2 separate regions of the Homo sapiens genome follow, and region 1 is linked to region 2. Evidence: promoter capture Hi-C in human tissues and cell types (Jung and others, 2019). All regions are on one chromosome and are shown on one strand. The core of a region is centred on a gene start or on the middle of the fragment in contact, and the rest is flanking DNA. Distances in the headings are between cores, read along the strand shown. Region 1 has its middle 78 kb from the start of EVX1-AS. Region 2 holds the start of EVX1 (even-skipped homeobox 1).

The links. The method cuts DNA at HindIII sites, captures the fragments that hold promoters and counts their contacts. A contact is called where the count stands out against the background at its distance.
Region 1: a contact is called between a fragment that was not itself captured here and the fragment with the promoter of EVX1 in region 2, in 3 of the 25 tissues and cell types used here (bladder, mesendoderm cells and thymus).

The regions. Positions count from the first base shown.
Region 1 is chr7:27,321,538-27,328,411 of GRCh38, forward strand. No RefSeq gene overlaps it. Among named protein-coding and RNA genes, the nearest start is that of EVX1-AS, 78 kb to the left of the region's middle. The HindIII fragment of the contact is 7,067 bases long and covers 1-6,765 here.
Region 2 is chr7:27,238,537-27,245,308 of GRCh38, forward strand. EVX1 (even-skipped homeobox 1) reads left to right here and starts at 4,266. Exons shown (of 3, transcript NM_001989.5): 1 at 4,266-4,921; 2 at 6,512-6,768. The coding sequence starts at 4,495. EVX1-AS (EVX1 antisense RNA) reads right to left here. Exons shown (of 4, transcript NR_120507.1): 2 at 3,379-3,474; 3 at 3,013-3,105; 4 at 2,893-2,914. RefSeq lists enhancers at 3,884-4,761, 6,683-6,772. The HindIII fragment of the contact is 9,702 bases long and covers 2,844-6,772 here.

The sequences.
Region 1 (6,874 bases), core at 1,982-4,481, 82 kb after region 2:
CACTTTTTCAACTCTTCATGTAGTACCACAAGGATCAGGATGATGCTTTTGCATACACCTGGGCACAGCTGCAGCTCAAATGTGTGAAACTTCCCACAAGGTCATGGGCACCTGCTGTTTTTGTCTGCCCAGCATTCATTCCCCTCTTTTCTGGTAACAGAACCAGCTTCTCTTTGGGGGAATTCCCTCTTCCGTATGGGTGGGCCCTTTTGGTGAGACTGCCCTGCCATCCCCTAGTTAAGTGATGGCCACAAGACCCAAGCCTGGCCAATCAGGTGTTCTCTCGAGTGGAGTCTGTAAAACCAAGATGGTGGTTATTGATTCCCCTAGGCAGAGGCCCCCTGAAGAGACTGCCCTTAGAGCCTGGAGCTACTCCAGTCCTAATCCTTCAGCTTTTCTAATTTTTCTCCCATTAAATTATTTTATCCCCTTGTTAACATTGTTAATTCACTTCTGTTGCTTGCAACAAAAACCCAAATTGACACACCAATACGTACTTCCTGGTATGGCAGGCTGGCGCTCTCCCACCAAACCCTCCTTCAGAAGGAAAGGGTGCTTTTACACCTTCTTAGAGCAGAATGTCTGAAGGGGAAGCTCTGACTTGGAACAACCACTCATAGAAAAGACTTCTCTGACGACATGACATTTGTTTGTAAATAAATGGCAGAGGAGTGCTCCAGTTGTGGTGCATTTTCTTGCTTAGAAGGAGTGCTAGGGAAGATAGTCCATGCTCTGGAATCAAACTGCCTGTCCTCAAATCCCGGCTTTGTGACTCAACTAAACCTCCGTTTCTTAATCTGTTAAAAGAGAATAGTTGCATCTACTTTTAGGGTAGTTAAAAATTAAATAAGATAATTCACGTAAAGTGTTTAACACAATGCTTGGTACATATAGATCCTCAACAAAGTGAGTTCATTGTGACAATATGCTTAAAATACACTTCTCTAGGTTTCCTTTAATTTGGTCTGTATGGCAGCTCTTTGGGATAATAAGATCAAGTAAATGCAATGTCCCTCAGGCGCAAAGATAGAATGTGACCCACTATCAATTGGACACGTGCTTAGAATTATTTAACTAGTAGTGATTGTAAGAGCCTTGAGTCAGAAACTGTTGAAATGAGTCTTGAGATAGAGCTCTCTCTATTTAATTACTATCTATTACAGTCAGTCTTCCCTGTCCATGGGTTCTGTGGCCAAGGATTTAACCAACCACAGAGAAAAAAATATTTGAAAAAAAAAAAAAACAATAAAAAATAGCAATACAACAATAAAAAATAATACAAATAAAAACCCAATACAGTATAATAATTATTTACACAGCATTTACATTGTATTAGGTATTATAAGTAATTAGAGATGATTTAAAGTATAAGAGAGGATGTGCGTAGGTTAAAGGCAAATACTATGCCATTTTATATCAGGGACTTGAGCATCCATGGATTTTGGTATGTGGGGGAGTTGGGTCTTGGAACTAATACCATGTGGATACCCAGGGACAACTGTACATTCGCTCTTTCTTTTTTACATTATCCCCTTTCATTCCTCTTTCCTCCTCACCTCTTTTTAGCCACAATCTCATAGCTGCACAGCAACTCGGATTCAAGAAATAGTTACTGAGAGTCAGGCCCTGTCCATACAGATGAATTAGGAGGCTTTCTGTGCTCAAGGCCTCAGTCTGGTTCTCACCTTCGTTTCCAGCATTTTCACCAATATTCAGCCTCTCAGGAACTCTTTTCTGAATGGTTGAAAGGACTTCCTAACTGACCTTTCACCTCTCTCCCCACTTCTTTCTTCCACCTTTCGAATCTCTCTGCTACATCAATCTCCCTGAAATTCAGCTCTCACCACCTATTTCTGCAAACCCCCTCTCGCCACATCGCGCCACATTACCTACCAAATAAAGCCAACAGTTTTCTTTCTGGTGTGTGGGGTCCTCCACAATATGGCGTCACCTTTCCTTCTCTCCTTCCTCCTGTTCCCCATGGCCCTGACCATCATCTGTCCTTCTCCAGCAGGCTCTGCATTCCCTATCCAGCTTTTGATCCATTTGCAATCCCCTCCTCACATGGGCCAAAACCCTGCCCATTCTATAAGGCCAGGAATAAATGCCGCTTTATAATTTGTCCCTGTTTCCCAAAGCCTGTAAAGGCTCTTCCTCCCCTCAGCCTCTACAGTGCATTGTAACTCTGTTTCAGCTTTATAGGACTCTGCCTTGTTTCATAGCTATTTAGGTAAGGCAGGAAGAACTTTCTGCCTGTGAAAAGGAGACACTGAAATGTACTTTCAAGGAAGGAGGGAAGAATTTAGCTTTCTCTGCAAGTTTTGAAGAAAGAGATCCATCTTTGAGGGAAATTTTATATGAGGTCTTGTCTGGAGGTCAGTCAATGAACTGATGGCCGCCAAAGGGTCTGGGTAATTAAAATTCTAGTAAATTTCTTGAGACGGTTTTAATTCCTTGAGACAGCACATGCATGTAGATCCGTAGGGAGAACACTAGAACAGGTTCTATTGAAGGAAACTAAGAACTATCATGGAGCTGTTTTCACTTTGCCAAAGGAAAGAGTAGCCAGGCCTCCTAGAGACTGGGCTGTTTTGGGGTTCTCCATACCTTGTTGGGACTAGGTAAGTTATTTTTCCTTCTTCTACGGTGATTTAGATCTTGGGATCCCTGTCCAATTCATTTCCTGGTTATTTGCAGAAATCTTGAGTATGTGGGTCCCTATCAGGAAACAGTGTGAAAGAGGGGAGATATTGGATTGCCAGCACTCTTCACATGTATTATGTGTTTAACTCCCATATCCACACATAAGGCAGAAATCATTTCCTCCATTTTTTAAAATGCCAAAATATTAGAAGTTTAGTGACTGGTTGAGGATTACTGAATAAGTGTTGAAATGGGTATTGAAACTGAGGTCATACTCTTCCTAATTCCATTCAAACCTCCCCCCACCCCTTTGTTGTCATCAGTTCTCCTTTTGGACTTTCTCTCCCATATGGCCCTAGAACTAACCTGTTGGCCCAACTTCCACCAATTTCTCACTGCCATATAAATCTGAGGCCTGTCCTTCACCTTCTCCCAGAATCAAAGGAGATTTGTGTGTGTGTGTGTCCCATTCTTTCTGGGCTATGTTATTAGCCAATCCAGAGATGATTACGAGCTAAACTATCAGTGATCTGTTATGACTCAAAGTCTATTATCCACCCGTGATTGTGGCTTTATTCATTTCTCCTTTAGTTCTATTCATTTTGCTTTATATATTTTAAAGTTTATGTGAGTAGGCATATACAAATTTAGGATTGTAAGGTCTTTCTGATGAACTAACTCTGTTATCATTATAAAATGTTTCTCTTTATCTCTGATAATATTTCTTGTCTTGAAGTCTATTTTGTCTAATAATAAAGCCACACCAGCTTTCTTATTATTAGAATTTGCATAACGATGTTTTTCCATCCTTTTACTTTCAGTATCTCTAAGGCCTTATGTTTGAAGTGTGTTTCCTGAAAACAGCATACAGTTGACATTGAGTTGTTTTTGTTTAAAAATCAAATCTAGGCCGGGCTTGGTGGCTTAGGCCTATAATCCCAGTACTTTGGGAGGCCAAGGCGGGTGGATCATTTGAGGTCAGGAGTTCGAGACCAGCCTGGCCAACATGGTGAAACCCCATCTCTACTAAAAATACAAAAATTAGCTGGGTGTGGTGGTGCACACCTGTAATCCCAGCTACTTGGGAGGCTAAGGCAGGAGAATTGCTTGAATGGGGACGTGGAGGTTGCAGTGACCCGAGATCACGGCATTGCACTCCAGCCTGGGTAACAAGAGTGAAACTCCATCTCAAGAAAAAAAAAAAGATCAATTCTGATAATATCTTTTAAATGGAGTGTTTAGTTCATTAACCTTTTATATTGTATAAAATTTAAGGTATACAACATGATGTTTTGATATATATAGCCATTCATTAACATTTAATGTAATTATTGATAAAGCTGGACTTATGTTTCCCATCTTGCTCTTTTAGGTCTTTTTGGTTTTAGGTTTTTCTTTTCTTTTCTTTTCTTTTCTTTTTAAAGAATTGCATTTGAATAGGAAACTCCTGGATACCATGCATCTAACCCTATTTGGTAATATTTTAGACAATCATAATGGATGAAGTAAAAGGGTCCTTCTGACATCTGCTATCTGTTGCCAAGTAAGCATTTGAACTTTTTGCTTATAAGTAAAGGAATGCCCTAATTATTTAACACTTAGGTCATTTTCAGTTTTTACTTCCAGAAATGGTACCTTAAAGATCATCTTCACACATAGCCTTTTCCTCCAGTTTTGGTCTGATATAATAGGATTGAGTTCCAGAAGGAGGATCTTTGGGTCAAAAATATTTAACATTTATTAAGTTACTGTATTGTTTTTCAAATGGGTGGTACCAATTTACCATGCAATCAGCGATGTATGAGAGTACATATTTTGCCACATCTTTACCAGTATTGAATGTTCCCAGTTAATTCAAATTTATTGTATTTATAAATCTAATTATACTATAATTTCTGGGATTATATTTAGTATATCTTAAAATTTTGATGTGCTATGAGAACCTCCAGAGCAGTAGGAAAAAATATAAAATATCCTATTTATTATGCTGAGAATTCTAAGAAGGTTTTTATCTAGGCAGAGTGAAAAATTGTGGAGTAGATCTAGGGAGACTGAAAAATTCCCTGGTTGGTTCCTGAAGAACACCATCACTACTTAAAAGACCTCTCTATCCTCTCTCCATCAAAATCTCATGCCAAATCTGCATTCTACTTCATTCTAAGGTATTATCTCAAAAGGAATTTGCAAGATGCAAATTTTCATGTACCTAAGGGATAGCTATATGCTTAGAATAGTGACTGGCCCCTCATGACATCAGTGGAAAATGAAAATCTTTGCTAATTAGGTGCCTTTGTAGTAAGAAAACATAATGATTTCTATTATGCAAATAAGTATGAGCATTTCTTTCATTATAAACTGCAATTCTTCTTTGTTATGTGAGAGCAAGGACTAATTTTATTTTCAGATCAATAGTTGGTATGCCGAGTTAATAGATGTGCAATGTTAATACAGTATAAAATAGCAAATTAGGCTACTTGGGTTTGAGAGCTTTTTTTTTTTTTTGAGACGGAGTCTCACTCTGTCGTCCAGCTGGAGTGCAAAATGGCACCATTTCGGCTCACTGCAACCTCTGCCTCTCAGGTTCAAGCAGTAGCCTCCCAAGTAGCTGGGATTATAGACATGCGCCACCACACTGGGCTAATTTTGTACTTTTAGTAGAGACAGGGTTTTGCCATTTTGGCCAGGCTGGTCTCGAACTCCTGACCTCAGGTGATCCACCCACCTCAGCCTCCCAAAATGCTGGGATTACAGGCATGAGCCACTGTGCCTGGCCTGGGAGCATCTTTTTAATCAGACCACATGACTATGGCTAGGTTGCATGAATCACTGCTGCTCTGGAGTTTTCTGGATTGCAGAGCTCTTCCTGATTGAAGCAGGCCTCCTGAAAAATCACAGTGGGACTTTGAATAAATACTTCCATCTCTTAGGCCTGTCTCATAAAATTGGGGGGGTTCTGAAATATGTTTTCTCAAGGGTTGAAGTGCATATTTATTTTTTTGTTGGGTGGGCTGAGCCAATAATGATTGCAATCAATAAGAAAGTCCTTCATCAGTAGAGTTTTATGATAGCAGCTTTAAAAGTCTCCAGATATGAGATGAACTCAGTTAAGTTTTATTGGTAATTTACCAGATATACTTCATGAAATTTACTCAGAGAATTTCATAATTCATTTTCACCTGCAACCATTGAAAGCCTCCAAATATACCAGGAGGCCCAAACTCATTTCTACCCTGGCCAATATCTGCAGATCTAGCCCACACAGCTGGCTTCCAACTGCCTGTACCTCAGCTCTCACAAAGACATTGTTTTTTTGGTTTTGTTTTGTTTTTTTGAGATGGAGTCCCGCTCTCTTGCCCAGGTTGGAGTGCAGTGGCACGATCTCAGCTCACTGCAACCCCTGCCTCCTGGGTTCAAGCAATTTTCCTGCCTCAGCCTCCTGAGTAGCTGGGATTATAGATGTACGCTACCACATCCAGCTAATTTTTGTATTTTTAGTAAAGACAGCATTTCACCATGTCAGCCAGGCTGGTCTCGAACTCCCAACCTCAAGTGATCCGCCTGTCTCGGCCTCCCCAAGTGCTGGGATTACAGGCATGAGCCACCGCGCCCAGCTGATCAATACATTTTTTCTTTTGTACTCCAAAGCAATGTATACTCATTGTTGAAAACTTGTAGTTTAAAAATAAGCAAAAGAAAGAAAATAAAAATCATTCAATAAATGTTTTTCTACTAACTTATCTATATTTTAAAATTTTCAACATTGAATAGATATTATTTTTATAATAAGAAAAAAGTTATATTTAATTTTTAAAAATTTCAGAAAGATATACTTCAAAATGTTCATAGTCTTTTTAAGCTTCTTTTTCCCTTAATTTTTGTATACTGTATTACTTTTGTAATTGAGAAAAATAGTTTCACAACAAATATTATTAAAAATTAATTCCACCACTCAGAAATAAGTATTGCCAATATTTTGGTGTATATGTTTCAAGTCTTCTTTCCTATGTCTAGCTAGAGTTTTATTTTATTTATTTAAAAAAGACATGTATTCAGTGTTACGATCAGACTATTACATTTAACAATCCACAGCATGGGCACATTAAAAACTTTTGTTAGAATGCTTTATACTTTCCACAGAACAGAAAGGAACAGAACAGAACAGAACAGAACAGAACAGAACAGAACAGAACAGAACAGAACAGAACAGAACCTAAAATAACCTGCCACAAAT
Region 2 (6,772 bases), core at 3,016-5,515:
TGAGCCTTTGGGTGCTTGGGTGTTGGAGAATTGCTCTTGGACACAAACTGCACTGGGCCCTTCCAGTCAGTGGCTGAGGTGGCAGCAAACCTTGAGCTTGGGGAGGTCTTCAGCTGCCAGTCTCACCCTGGGTCCTCCAGCCCTAGGATGGGCCAGTGGTGGGAATGGGGATGTGGACCAGACATCCTTAGCACAGGGCCAGGAAGCTACCAGGCTGGCCTTAAGGAGCCCAGGCAGACAGGTGTACAGGCAGGAGTGCAGCAGGGTCAGCTGCCTCCCAGGACCTGGCCCTCCATTCCAGGAGGGTGGAGAGGAGGGGGCACTCTTCAAAATCAGAGTTCCAGAAGCCGCAGTTTCCCCCTGTCTGAAGGAGAAAGTGTTCCACGGTGCCTGCCACAGTTACACAGCTGCCACCGACTTTCTCAGCAGATTCCACTGCAGTGCAAGGAGGTGACAGGAGTGGTCAACCCTCATCTACCTGCAAGTGTGAGATCCACTCGACCTTATTCCCCAGGGGTGCACCCAGCAGTGGCACTAGGTTCCCAAAAGGGCATCAGCAGCTGCCAAGGCAGAAGGGGGAAGCGGGTCCCAGAACCACCCACCTCCGGCTGTCCCCACCGCGAGGACCCAGCAGTCTGGCGCCCCCACCACGGCCTGGAAGATGACGGAGGGCCCAAGACTAATATTCACGACAGCCAGACCACGCTTATTGTTTAGAAGGAAGCTCCCTTTGTTCTTACTTTTTAACCAAAGAGAAGCGAAAACATTTTTTTCCTGATCACATTTTCACCGACACCTGAGCCGACAAGCCAGCTCCTGGCCCCCGGCTCAGGACTCCTCGCTCTCTCCCTTCTCGGGGCCCTGTCGCCGTTGAAAGGCCCGCTGCAGGCTGGGGAGGGTGATCGGGGCCGCGGGCCATCTCCCCCGAGCCGGGCGGGCAGACTGCGGAGGCAGGCCCCACACGCGCCGCTTTTCCGAGCCCGGTTTTCTTCAGGAGCGAAGCTGTTCCAGCTGACCCGCGCGTCTGGGGGCCTATGCCCGGCTTCCGATTCCATTTAAAACGACCCGCGCATCTTATCTCCGTCGCCTCCCCGGGGTTCCCACCCACCCCCCTCCGGCCCGGGCCAGGCCAGCCCAGCCCCGGCGGAAGCCAAGCTGGGAGCTTTTGAAGTCCGGAGAATTTCAATCCGAGAGGAGCCGGCTGGACCGGAGCCCGTCGCCCCAGCGGGGGAAGGGACGGGGGGCCTGCCGTGTGGCAGGTGGGGGATGGGTGTCCCCCGCCGCGAGAAATGAGAAGCCGCCGGGCCTGGAGCGGCCTCCACCTCAGCTGCTATCACCCCCTCTCCGCTGTCATGGGATTGCCCAGGCTTAATGGGGTTGTGCAGGGCTTCACTTGCTCTCGGAATTTACCTTCCTTCTCGAGCCGTGCCGCGAATAACCTTCACGACACAGTGATAACGATGTTATTAAATACTCCCCCCACATTCACCGCCCAAAAAACCAAAACAGTGTTCTTATCCAGTCCTCTCTTTTTTTGTCTTCTTTCCTTTAAAAACCCAACCGCTCTTAATGTGAGGTTGATGAAAGGATGCTTTTGGAAGAAGTGACATTTGGTTAAAACGTTTTCCCCCTAATGCGCCGGTGGAAAGGGGCGGGGGTGGGTGTGGTTCCCTAGGCTCCTAAGACTGGCCAGTCAGCTTTGAAAGAGCGGGGCAGAAGTCGGGAGAGGGCTGGGGAAGGCTTTGGGCTGAGGGGATGTGTCCCTGAAGCTTCAGATCTGGAGCCCAAGGGAGGCAACCTCCCTCTGAAAAGCCGGTCCTCAGCTCCATCCAGCCCTCTCCGCGGGATGTAAGCCCTGCTCCGTAGGGCCCGACCCAGGAAGCAGACTAAGTGGCACTCCTTGATCTCTCACTCCTACTCGGCTTTCATCTCACCCAGAAGAAAAGCGGATCAAACAGAGGATTCCCATTGAATGCAGAGCTGGGGGCGGGGTGGGGAGCCAGGAGTCCCTCTGAGGACCCAGCCCCCAGGAGATGGGGGCAGCAGGCTACTCACGAGAAGGTTAAGCGCTCAAGGAGGAAAGGAGGGTGGGCACCTCAAAGGCCCAGTGCTGGAGGGCCCTATAGAGAGTAGGCAACCTTGGAAGCTCTAAGACAGATGCCCAGGGGGCTTGCCATTGACAGGAAAGAGAGCAAGCCAGGTGCTCCCTCAGGCTGTGGCTGCTGGTAGGGAGGACAGAGAAAGATAGAATACCTGGACAGCTCTCCAAGGCAGGAAAAGGTTCTAGGATTTGACTCCCCTCACTCCCAATTGATCCTCTCACCTCTAAAACATTTCCCTGGATTTTGGGGCTAGCAGTGCTCAGCATATAGTGGCTTCAGGAGTCCCAAGGAGTAGAAATATCTATGTGGACACTACCTTCCGGATCCCGCTGCCTCCGCCCCCAGGCAAGATTAATGAACATCGTCTTAGACTGAAAGAGAAGTGGAAAGCCGGAGTGAAGAGGAAACTTTGTCTTTCTTTGGACCCCTTACTTCCTCTACCTTCCTTAACCCTATGGATAGGAAGATGGAGGAGAGAAGCAAAGAAGGAGAAGAATACAGAAAGAGAAAAAGGAGGAGAGAAAAGTAGGAGATAACAGATAAAAAGGTCACGGAAGAGGACTTACCTGTAAAAGCTGGGGCTTTGCTAGGGACACAGAAAGGAGGGAGGTGCTGGGCTGCCCTTTGCAGCTGGCTGCCTAGGGCTAGAAGCTCTTCGGGAGGAGGCGGAGAAAGGGGGGTTGAGCATAGAAGGTGCCCACCTCCTGCTCTCAGCAATGTGGGGATAGACTCAGCCCACCCACCTGGCCCCAGCACACTTGCTTGGAGCTCAAAAAGGGTCAGTTTGAAGGAGTTTTATACCAGCTTCTTCCCTGGGAGAGGAGCCAAGAGAGGCCTATGGCAGCTTCCAGATATTAAGTTCCACAACCCCTGCCCCCACCTCCAGCCCTTCATCAGAGTCCCTACTTACTTGCTGTTTTAGGGCATTTTCAGCGACTTCACTCTCTTCTACCTCAAACGCCATCCACTTTTGGAGACAGGTACCACTGCCCCTAGGCAGGGACTTGGGAGAGGACCTTATGAGTCAAACCTCTATGAACCCCAACCTTTTTGTACTCGGGGAGGCTGAACCCCTGCCCAAAATAGCGCGGTGAAAGCTACTGCCTTCTCCCAAGTAGGGGCCTCCAGTACTGCCACAGCAGGGGCCGCATTCCTGGCGCCTCTTCATTCGAAAAACCTCTTTCCAGGAGACTTCGCTGATTCTGAACGAATACTTTAAAATATGGGCAAGGGAAAAAAAAAGACAACTCTTAGAAACTCTCCCCACCCAACATACCTGGAGTGCAGGCGAGGTCCAGGCAAACGGGAAAGCGACTTCTTGTACGAATAGCCATCTCAAGATGAAGCCAGGCTGTGGAAAACTTAAGGCCATCTAGATGGGAAGGAGGTATTTAAAAGAAATCAGCACACACTCTTACAGAAGCCAAGGCGGGTCTTTAAATTAAAAAATAATAATAAGGTATTTATTTCTTGCCCCTTAGGGAAGAAAAATAGCAAAGTTTGGTTCGCAGGAGTAAGGAGACAGAGGTGGGTAGGGAGAGGGAGGAGAAAAGAGGAAAAGATGGCCCAGCCTCAAGCTCTCCAGTCAACTTGGGGCGGGGGAATACATTTTTCCGTAGCTTGTAAAAAGACTTTTCAGCCAGTTTGAGGTTAGCTGCCAGGGGCAGACAGTTGTAATAATGCCGACAGAATTGAGGCTTGTAAGCCGGGCTTCACACTTCTAAAATGCAGTTATGGATTCTTTCATCGGTGTTAGATCAAGGCACCAAGTTAAGAAAACAAAAGTCAAAACAACAATAAAAGAAAAAATCAAAAGCTTATTTAATTACCGAGTCCCGCTGCCCCTGCGGAACTCGCCGCGCGCGTTAAGCTCTCTTTTCTTTCTGCGGAATTCCATTTGCATCCCCTCTGCCTGGGTGTCTCCCTCTCTCAGTGTGTGTGTCTCTCTGTCTGTTTTCACACTCTCCTCCCCAATCGAGCGAGGCCCACACCTGGCGCATCACTGCCGAGCCATTAGCTGCGGGTTTCCTTTCATCTTCGCTGTGGCAGACGTTTCTATTTATCCACTTGCGCTCGCCGAGTGGCGTCACCAGCGGTACTGTAATGACGATTGCAGCAGGAGGATGACAGCTTAGAAAGAAGAGGGCAATGGGGCTTCCTCCCAGAGGCGGTGCGGCACAGAGGAGCGCTCGCTTCACAAGGTGACCCTAGCTCCCACCGCCACCGCCGCGGTCGCGGTCCAGACCGCGCTCCAGCAGCTCCGCGCCCTCCCAGGCACCCGGCCTTTCTTTCTCCCTCTTGCAACCAAGATCCGTCCGGCCGCTGGAGACCCAGGGAGCCGGGGTTAGGAACTCACTTGGGGCTTTCCCCTCCCCCACCGGAGAGCCCCGGGATGGAGAGCCGAAAGGACATGGTTGTGTTTCTGGATGGGGGTCAGCTTGGCACTCTGGTTGGCAAGAGAGTCTCAAATTTGTCCGAAGCCGTGGGCAGCCCGCTGCCGGAGCCGCCCGAGAAAATGGTGCCCCGTGGTTGCCTGAGCCCTCGGGCCGTCCCTCCGGCCACCCGGGAGCGCGGCGGGGGAGGCCCGGAGGAGGAGCCGGTAGATGGACTCGCAGGCAGCGCGGCGGGGCCGGGCGCCGAGCCCCAGGTAGCTGGGGCGGCCATGCTCGGCCCAGGACCCCCGGCCCCCTCAGTCGACAGCCTCTCCGGACAGGGGCAACCCAGTAGCTCGGACACCGAGTCGGATTTCTATGAAGAAATCGAGGTGAGCTGCACCCCGGACTGCGCCACCGGGAACGCCGAGTACCAGCACAGCAAAGGTAGCCACCGTGCCCCTCCGCTCCCCGGGCCTCCCACTGCGCCCACCCTTCACTTCGGCGCAGGCCAGGAGGAAGACACTCCCTTCCCCTAGGGCAGGATGGCTGGGGGGACCCACCTGAGCAACTCTCTCTGCTATCTGCGTTCTGGCGGGGGTCTCCTACTGTGTTCTGGCATTGGCGGGACTGAGGGTGACAGCAGTGCCTTGAGTGCGGGGTGCTGAGGGGGCGGATGCAAGTCCTGGACTTGGGGGATTCGAAGCTCACCCCAAGCACCCAGTGTTTCAACTGCTCGGGGAATGCTTCAATTGCTCGGGGAAGACACTTTCCCCAGGCGAGGGCAAGATCAAACGCCGATCCGGGCAGTTTGTGGCTGGCAGGGTGTAAGAGGCATGGAGGCGCGGAAGCCAGGAGTCCATAAAGGACCGTAAAATTGCGGCCCACTTGGGCAGCCCGGGTGCTGCAGCCCTCCGACCAGTTTGCACGTCGGTCAGAGGTCCAAATTACCTTGTCACTTCCCGGGCTTCGCGGCGCCAGGTCGGAAATGGTCCCAATGGTCTAATTGCCTTTGGTCTCCGGTTGCATTTGAAAAGGCAGAGATCGGGTCCTCCCCCCTTCCCCTTTCCTTCCTAGTCCCACTTCTCCACCCAAAGGAAAAGGAGCTGCAGGGGGCTGGAGCCCCACCCTTCTCAGAGGTAGGCCCAAAGGGGGGCTGGTTTAACTGGAGAACCCCTCCCCACCAAAGGCTAATGGGAAAGGGGTGGATAGCCCGGAAGGGAGTTTCCCTCTGTGCCAACAATCACCTCCCCAGAAGGGGGTAGAAAACTGGGCGCGGGTTGGTGGGGGGGAGGAGAGGGGAGCCCACCAGCAGACACTCCTCCACAGAACTGTAGGAGTGGGTGGAAAGAGCCTGGGGGCGGGGGGGAGAAAGACCACCCCCTGGTCTTGGCAGCCAACGCCTTGTTGAATACCTGCACCTACCCCTTACTATCTTATCACCGATTTCACCCAGCCTCCTTCCCATAACCCTCAGAACAACCTGGACTCCACTCACATATACTAAGGTAATAAATAAGATACTCAACATGCATTCTCACTCCAGCCCTGCAATACACGGAACCTAGTACACATTCCCACACCTGTTCTGGCAGCCCGTCACACATAAGAGCAAGGAAACTCTCTGAATGCCCAGCATACTACAATGCACTTGACCCAGAGTTTACAACCCTCTAGCACAAAGGTGCATCTCAACTCATGTGCCTGTCAGAAGTGCACGCCCTGCCAACGGGAGGCAGAAATCTCACCTATGCTCCAGGGCAGGTGGGAAGGGCGGCTGGGAACCCCTGTACCCAGGATGCCTTAGAGGAAGGGAAGGCCTCCCCAAAGACCTCTACCTACCCAATCAAGGGCAGGCCCTTATTTTCCCTTCTTGGGTTCCCCAGAGGCCGCAGTACCCTAGCAGAAACAGTTACTGAGGTGGCTGACAGGGTGTCCCTTCCCAAATCACCCTCCCACCTTAGGCCTACAGCCCCACTTCAATGGCGTTTGTGTGTCTGTGTCTGTACACGCCTGTGCTCTGGACTCGCTGTGCAGGGTCCGGCTCCGAGGCGCTGGTCGGCAGTCCGAACGGAGGGAGCGAGACCCCCAAGAGCAACGGCGGCAGTGGTGGGGGCGGCTCGCAAGGCACCCTGGCGTGCAGCGCCAGTGACCAGATGCGTCGTTACCGCACCGCCTTCACCCGAGAGCAGATTGCGCGGCTGGAGAAGGAATTCTACCGGGAGAACTACGTATCCAGGCCGCGGAGATGTGAGCTGGCGGCCGCCCTAAACCTGCCGGAAACCACCATCAAGGTAT